Regions from separate parts of the Homo sapiens genome. Here region 1 is linked to region 2. The links are contacts of gene promoters, found by promoter capture Hi-C in blood cells and fetal thymus (Javierre and others, 2016). All regions are on one chromosome and are shown on one strand. The core of a region is centred on a gene start or on the middle of the fragment in contact, and the rest is flanking DNA. Distances in the headings are between cores, read along the strand shown. Region 1 overlaps LY86 (lymphocyte antigen 86). Region 2 holds the start of BMP6 (bone morphogenetic protein 6).

Region 1 (4,299 bases), core at 1,690-4,189, 1.1 Mb after region 2:
GTCGCATACTTGGTTCATCTGGGCATGCTCGGGTTACATAACCTTCAACCTGGAGTCCACGGCAACCGAAAAACAACTCACAACTTTATCATATAAGAGTTGAGCCAGATTGGTCTGCTGTGGTTACAAGGAGAGGTCATGTGACCCAAGCCATTCTAATCAGAATGAGTAACAGGGTTTTGGGATAAAGGTCTCTTTTGCCTTCTGTACTGTGGACAGTGTGGATGTGAGGTCTCCAGCTACTGAAATGATTTGCTATTGTGGGACAGACTGTCTGAGGGTAAAGGCAATATTCCAGGAGACCCGAGGTGGAAGAACTGTGGAGAAATGGAGGTGAAGAGCCGATGATGAATGAACCTCAGCAGCAAACGCTGGCTGACACCTAAACCACCCTGGGACTCAGTAGTCATGGGAGACAACCTAGTCCCCTATGCATAAGCCAGATTCAATTGAGTTCTCTGTTCCTCATAGCCAAAACGTTCTAAGAGATGCGATCACACTGTCCTGAGGGGCTTTATCAGCATTCTGCCTAGACTCTAGCCTGACAAAGCTTCCCTTGGGCACTGGAATGTTCCTCAAAAATATTTTTTAAAACGTTCTATACGTAACGATGGAAATTGCCCTCAAAATATAAAGAAGGGCTGGTGGGCACTCCAATGTCTGAAGCTGGCTGATTTTCATAATAATTCCTTAATTGTGGCAGCACTGCATCATCCTGAACCAAGCTGTTTTTTTTTTTTTTTTCTTCAGAAGAGTTTATTGAGGACACATTTTTGGAGTTGTTGATAGTGATTTTTGAAACAGTAGCAATTCTCTTTACAGGAGAAGTCAATTTAGTTTGATAGATTGTCTGGGCACTTTGACCCCACCCCAGCCAGTAACCACACAATGGCTAGCCTGAGAGGGCTCGGCTTGGGGTCACCCACCTCCCCTGACAACCCTGCTTCCTGGGCTGGCCCTTTCAAAGTCATCTTAGTTACTACATCCTGCCAGAGTGTTAAATAATGACAGACTCTAGCGTTTCTCCTAGCAGGGCTGTTCGTATTCCAAGAGGAGACTCCTGAACATTGAAATATGTTTTCAACTTGCTGGAATAAAACTAATGGTGAAATTTAAGGCCCATGACAGGACACTAAGAAAAGACATATTCTGGGACAAAGAAACATTTTTTTTTCTCTCAAATCATGTCCTTAGTGAAACGGCTGTGTACTTGTATATTCAGCTATGACTAGGATAGTCTCCATATATGGAAATTCCAGTTTAACACAAACCTATAGCATCTGAAACTTTCTCTCTCCCTCCCTCTCTCTCTCACGCACACGCACCCACACAGTCAATTTAAAGAAGAGGGCAAAGGGATTGGGAAGGGACTGGCTGAGTTCCACCTGTGTCTTTGGAAGGCTGTGACAGCTGTCTTGTACTGTTAGAACATGTGCGTACACAGAGTCTAGCCAGGGACTTTACTACTTGTGGTGATGGTTACTGAAAAGGGAGAGAGGTGAATGTCTCAAGCTAGAGGGAATGGCCAGGGGCAGGAATCATTTGCTATTCTTGTGCGTAACACCGTCACCCCCATGTACGTTCAGAGGTTTGCTCCTGAGCCTAGTATGACCACGCACGTCTTTTCCCTCGAGCATTATGGGCCTAGGCAAGGACGCTGCTGCAATTTTGCCTGCTCATAACCCAGAAAACCTCAGATGCTGGTTTTAAAGTTTGACAGGCATTTTTGACCTGCTATTCTAGGTGGTTTACTGATGTATAAACAGTGATTAATAGCAACTACTGTTTTTTAAACTATGGAATTTTTTTCTCTTTTAATCTCTAATATAGTGGCATTTTTATGAATGATAGTGTCAACTCACCCACCTTACTCCAGCCCCTTAGCAGGAGCAAGAGGGCCAGCAGGGACACTGGAAGGACAGGGGCGTCGGATGGTGAAGGGGCTATGCAGCCCACCATGCGATCAGTGCATCCCAGGAGAGAAGACGGGGCCGCAGAAATGGCTCTGGAAGTAGCATGGGCAACATGCTCATTTACGGAGAGCATCGTAGAAGACAACTTAAGAACACAGCACCTGATACACATTAAGTGTTCAGGAGTTATTCCTTGCATTCATTAATGAATGCAGTAATGAACGCCAGCATATGCTGAGGTCAAGTGTAATCATGCTTTGAGGGATGAAGGTGAAATGAATGTTTGGATAAGCGAGAGTATGATGTCCCTATTCGTGAGGTTGCATCAGCTTCTCGGCCCTCATGGTCCAAGGGTGGGGGCCTGCCCAGGAGAAGCAATGGCACATTTTCCCAGTGTTCTAATTTTAGCCAGGCTGTCACCCTCCTGAATTTCTTGGAACTGCTTATGCTGCACCAGCATCCGGCACTGTATCTGGAGGAAATGACTTTTTAACTACAGCATTGTAGTAAGATTCTTTGAACAAACCACAATGAACAATGGTGGCCAGCTTTCTTTATTCTTGGTAACTGTGAGGAAGCACTCCTAAAAAGTTGAAAAGCAGGTGAGTCTGGTGGGAGGCGACCAATTAGAGAAAAAGGATGGACCCTCAAGACTGCTTAAGGACTGCCAAGAGGCTCCTTAGAAACAGATACATTCGGGGACTTCATTACATCTGTGGAGTCTGGGGATGTCTGGTCCTGGGACTAAAATTAGCAGCTGCACTCTTTGGGGGCGCTTCTTTGTAGAGCCTCTCTCTGTCATCAGCTGCTTCTCCTCCCACAGTAGGTTCAGTCAGAGGAGCTTGGAGGTCCCACGAGATGCAGCTGGCTGTGATTTTTGCTACAGGCCACAGTCAGGAGCACATGATAGTAGCATTGGCACAGGCCACGGTGGACCGTTTTTCAGTGTACAGTTCCAGCAAAACCTGGTATTCTCCCTGCAAGGGGCACAGGTCAAGTATTAGACGTGTGACCCACAGTACAATTAACCATTTAACAAATATTTACAGAGAAACTTTTATGTGCTGGGTGCTGTTCTGGACATTGTGGATAACGTAGAACAAGACAAGCCAACCCCTGCCCTGTGGAGCTGACAGCATCTCTGGGAGAGACAGACCACCCTTATGATATGTGACTATGTATGGTGTGTCAGGTGCTCATGTCATGGAGAAAACTCATGCAGGAAGGGAGTGGATGGAAGCACTGGATGGGTCAAGGCAAGTGCTGGTCTGCAATTTTGAGCAGGGTGGTGAAAGGAGGCCCTGCTGAGACGACGACATTTAGGCAAAGACCTGAAGCAGATGCAAGAAGGTGCAGTGCTGCTATGGGCTGGGGCCCCCACCTTAGAGGGGCAGAAGGAGGCCAGTGGGGCTGCAGGGAGTGGGGGGATGGGGGGGGTGAGGTAAGGGCAACACAGGAGGCCAGACTCTTAGGGCCTCAAAGGCCATGGTGGGGACATCAGCTTCCACTCTGAAAGGGACTCTGGTCAGGAGAGGGTGGCCTGCCCTGGCGCCTGTGTCGGTAAGATCCCTCTGGCTGCCTCACTGAAAAGCCCAGATGGGAGGCGATTGCAGGAATCCAGGTGAGAGATGAAGATGACTTGGAGTAGAGGTGGAGGTGGGGGAAGGCTTTGGGTGCCAGAGAGATTTTGAAAGAACAGCCAATAGGATCCGCTGAGGAAACGCAAGTGGGTGGGAGAGAAAGAAATGGGTTAAAGGTGACTCCAAGGCTCCTGGCCTGAGCAACTGGAAGGAGAAAGGTTTGTATGCTCAGACAGAGAAGACCCCGGGGAGCACAGTTCACCAGCACAAAACCAAAATGCACCATCACAGAAAGAATGGCTGCCTTTGGGGATCCTTGCTGGCAGCAACACTGTAAGGAGGTCTCCCTTCCTTTGCAGTCAGCTTGGCAGAAGCCACCTGGCAGCCAGGTCCTATGAGGACTGTAGAAGAGCCATTCTGGTTTTGTTTGCTGCCAGCACCCCAGTCCTGCACCCCAGCAGCCACGGAGCGGTGATGTGTTTGTAGACACGAATCTGGAGAGGAAAATGCTCTGGGGTGGTTGGAGGGTCGCAAGCGGAGCAGAGGGACTGTGGCAGAGGAGGCCAGGAGACTGCTGGCACATCTTTGAACTGCCTGTCACCCAAAGGAGGAAAGAGTTTAATCTGTATAAAGCAAGAGGGAAGGAGTAGGTGAGACCACCGGAGAGAAGCTGCATGAAAGGTGGCTTTTGTTAGAAGGGAGCAACTTTCTAGCAATGAGCAGAGCTTCCAAAGAGAGTGGAGTCCCCAACACTGAAATTGTATTCAAGAGAACCAGGCTGTGCTCTGGATGGTGCCTTGGGTGTG
Region 2 (4,063 bases), core at 1,085-3,584:
TCCATTCTGTTGCCTGGCAACCGGTTCAGAGGAGCTCAGCGCCCAACCCCGGCCCCTACCCCGCACCCTTTCTCTGCCCGTGCAGCTTGGGCTGCATTGATCAAAGGTTCAGCCTTTGGGGACAATGGCCAAGGGCATGTGAGCCGGGGCACAGGATGGATTACCCCAGTTGAGCTTTCATCCCGCCCCAAACAGAAGCGAGCCCCGCCCGGCCGGGATCCGAGCGCCTTCCGCGGTCCTTTTGGGACTTCCCTCTGCAACCTCCCCTAGTGCCGTGGATACCTCTAAACATACTCATGCCAAGTTTTCAAAGTTCCCAGCCGCTGTCGGATTCCCTAAAAGTCTCGGTGGGAAAACTGCACTCCAAGTTAGGGGGCAAAAGGCGGCAGTTTAGAGGGGAAAATCGTACTGAAGAGCCCTCTTCCCAGGATGGCCACACTCGGGCTGGACTCTCCTGCTGCAGTTGAGTTAACCTGGCCAGAGCTGGGCAGAAGTGAAAAAAAGCGCGGAACGTGCTCAGGGAGTCCGCAAATACACGCCCGCTGGGGACAGCGCTCCCGGAGCCCCGCGGCCCGGCCGGCCAGCCGCCTCTGGGGGCCTCGGCGCGCAGCCCTGCCCGCGGCGCGGGGGAGCGCATGTGCCGCCCACCGCCGCGCAGGTGGCGGGAGCACAGCCTGCCTGTCCCCGCGTTCTCTGGCGCACCAGGCGGGACCCGCGCGCCGGGAGCTCCTCCACCCCCTCACTCCATCCCCTGGGCCCGGGACACTGAAAAGGGGGAAATGTTCTCGTCATTACGTTACCCCAAATCCTTACCCAGGTTCACAAAGCTCATGACCATGTCCGCGTCGTTGAGGAAGGCGCTGTCCTGCGCGCTGGTCAGTGGGGACGCGCCGCCGCTGCCAGATCCGGGGGCCAGAAGGCTCTTGCGGTTGAGCGGGTGCGCGGCGCCCGGGGGCGGCTGCCGACGCTGGGACGAGCTGGCTGCTTCGTGGGGCCAGGACTGCTGCCTCTCCCCCTCCGACGCCCCGTCCTCGTCGTTGTCGGCGGACAGGGCGTTGTACAGATCCAGCATGAAGAGGGGCGCGGACTTCAGTCGCCCGGGAGGGGGCTCTCCGCGAGGCAGCTGCTGCTGCTGCTGCTGCTCCTCCTGCTGCCGGAGCGCCGGGGGCTGCGGCTGTTGGAGGCCGTGCAGGGGCCGGGGCCGGTGCGGGAGCCCCAGCACCGACAAGATCTCCTTCTGCATCTCCCGCTTCTCCTGCGTCTTGAGCCGCCGGTACAGGAAGCCCGAGGAGGACTGCGGCGACGGCGGCGGCTGCTCCGTGCGGCCGGGGCTCCCGCCGTCCCCCAGCAGCTGCCCCCCGGCGGCGGCGGCCGCGGCAGCGGGCAAGGGCGGCCGCAGCGGCGGGGGCCCGCAGCAGCTGCACAGCAGCCCCCACCACCAGCACAGCCACTGCGCCCTCCGCCCCAGCCCCGGCATCCCCGCCCGGCCGGGCTGCCCCCGCGGATCCCGCGAGGCGTGGAGCGGCGGAGCGAGGCCGGAGCGCGGCCGCTGTGGCCCTTGGCGTGAGCAGTCCCCGCCACCTCTCGGCGGGCTCGCTTCCCCTTCCTGGCCCTCAGTCCTTATCTCTCATGGTCGTCCGGGGCGCCCCCAGTTGCCCAGGCTAGAGAGGTGGCGAAGGGGCGATCACCAGGAGAACCGCTTGGAGGGGAGGAAGGGGAGCCTCACAGCCTCGCGCAGGTCTCTAGAGGCGCGCGGTCCAGGCCAGGTGCGTCTGAGTCCGGGCTGCACTGCAGCCTGCGCCCTGGCTCCTGCGAGTCGCGGCGCGGTCACTCTGGGCCTCGCTGGCCGCACACGTGCGCTGCCCCGCGCTCTCCCTGGCGACTGAGTGGGACCCGGGGCAGCGGGGAGCGGGGCCGCTCACGAGCTGCGGGAGATGCCCGGCATCACCGTGGCGCACGCCCCTCCCCAGATCGCAGGGCCACCATGAAGTTTACCCCGTTGCAGGGCCCAGGCTGCGGCGACAAGGCGTCCCGAAATGCCAGTCTATTCCGCGAGGTTTAACTTCCTTCTCGCTCACGAACTCCGCGCCCCTGAGCTCTCGGGCACCGTCGCTCCCACTCAAAATCTCCGCGCGCCGCACGCCTCCTCAAGCGGAGGCGGCGAGGATCTTGCTTTCCGTTCGGCGGTCGCCCGGCTGCCCAGCAAACCCGCTCGCAGAAAGGATGGGAAGGAAGGGGGCTAGTGCACCGAGCAGCGGCCGCGGCGGCGGCGCCGGAATTCGGTCTCCCGCCTCTCCACGCCGCGCTCCCCGCAGCGGCCAACGTGGGCTTTCTGCTGCGCGCCCGGCTCAGGTACCTCACTCCAGCCCCGGGACTCCCCGCCCCGCGGTAACCGACAGGCTGGCAGCCAATGGGGACGCGAAGCTCGCGGGCTATTTAAATAGCCCCGCCCCTTCTTTCACCCTCCCTCTCCCGAGAGGCGTCGCCTCCGCCGCGCGTAGGTTTCAAGACCCGGGAATTCTTGGAGGCATGCGAAGAGCCGCGAGGTGCCAAAGGCGAAGAGGTCATCGCTAGTAAGAATGATCTGACCAATACCCCGATCTGAAGCTTTCTCTTTTACCATCATTTAAAAGGCCTAAGTTGATGCTTTAACTAAATAAAAATAATAACAGCGATTAAATCACTATACTGCCAGAACTGAGGAAGAAAAGAAAAATGATAGCTTTTCCATCCCTTCCTTAGTTTCTCTTATTGATGTAATGTAGGCGTTTAGCGGACACGTGGCTTTCCACGGCAGCTGCTGGAAGTTGGGACACACCCTCCGGGGAGGCTACTCACAAACTGACCACAGAGAGGGCCACATGTAACCCAAGCCAGCGTCCTGAGGGTTTGGGGTCGGATGTGTTGACTTCTCTGTTCATTTGTGCTTTGGTTTGGCTTCTTAAGCTAGCACCCAAAAGAAAGAGGGTGTAATCAGACGATATATTAGAAAAGGCGTCCCCTGTCTTCTTGGAAATGTCTTGATTCTCCAGCTTATCTATTAATGTTGCATTTTAATATTGAAATACAATGTGACTTATATGGTGCAAGATAAAACTTGAGGAGAGGTGATAAAGATAACTCCAGGAAGAGCAGGGGCTTGGCATGCATTCTGAATGGTCAGGACAATAGACAGGGTCCTGAAACACAGGTTCCTGTGGATTTTAGACAAGATAACACCACCACCAACACCATTTGCCAATGAGGACACAAATTCATTTGCCTTTACCCCGCCCGAGAACATCCAGTCATCTATGGATCGTAGAAGCAAATTCACGTAAAACATGAAGGTTTTTTACTTGGTGAAAATTGTGTGGAGTTGAAAATAAAAACTGCAATTTTCTGACTTGCCAGCCTTAGTCCAAATGGTCCTAGGCATTTGAGAGTGAAGTCAAATAGATTATAGACTGTGGGATTCATGAATTTATGAGATCATAGGCTTTCTGTTGGTCCAAATCTTATAAGCATTCCTATCCTATTTCCAAGAATCTATTTCTCATGGGTAAATAGAGACCACCACTGACTCCAACTACCCACTGAGTCCTTCTTTCTAGTTCTGCCTTGGCCCAGACACAAGTGGTCATTTAGAAGAGTCTTTATTTCTACAAATATCTGATAGCTATGAATTTCAGGGCACAAAACTTATGTGAATGCCAGTCTTTAACCATCTCTACAGGGATTTCTTCCATCCGAAAAGATAATACGATACTTTGTCTGGGATGCCCGGACCCTCAGAATTCAAGAGCCCTGTCACTTCTTTTTTCTGTAGGGAACATGTTAGGGACATAAATTCACTGCAGTGCCCCACAGCAGCCAAGAGCTCTGCTCAGAAGATCTGAAATTCCAGCAAATACACCTAGGCTTCCTGCCAAGAGCCTCCTTTTTTAAACCTAGTTGCACCTTCCTCATAAGACTTCTGGTGAGATGCAGGCAGAGTAAAAGACTTTCTACCTACGAGGGCAGTGGGGAAGACACAGGAAACTCAACATTTCAAGCATGGATGAGGGCACCTTGGTGGGGCTAT

What was found. Contacts are between HindIII fragments. The CHiCAGO score rates a contact against its expected background, and 5 or more counts as called.
Region 1: a contact is called between a fragment that was not itself captured here and the fragment with the promoter of BMP6 in region 2, in 1 of 17 cell types (neutrophils). The highest score is 8.3, in neutrophils.

What each region holds. Positions count from the first base shown.
Region 1 is chr6:6,653,135-6,657,433 of GRCh38, reverse strand. LY86 (lymphocyte antigen 86) reads right to left here. Exons shown (of 5, transcript NM_004271.4): 5 at 2,452-2,890. The coding sequence ends at 2,807. Among named protein-coding and RNA genes, the nearest start is that of LY86-AS1, 32 kb to the right of the region's middle. RefSeq lists a silencer at 3,387-3,577. The HindIII fragment of the contact is 4,773 bases long and covers 553-4,299 here.
Region 2 is chr6:7,724,370-7,728,432 of GRCh38, reverse strand. BMP6 (bone morphogenetic protein 6) reads right to left here and starts at 2,334. Exons shown (of 7, transcript NM_001718.6): 1 at 814-2,334. The coding sequence starts at 1,477. The HindIII fragment of the contact is 3,909 bases long and covers 1-2,609 here.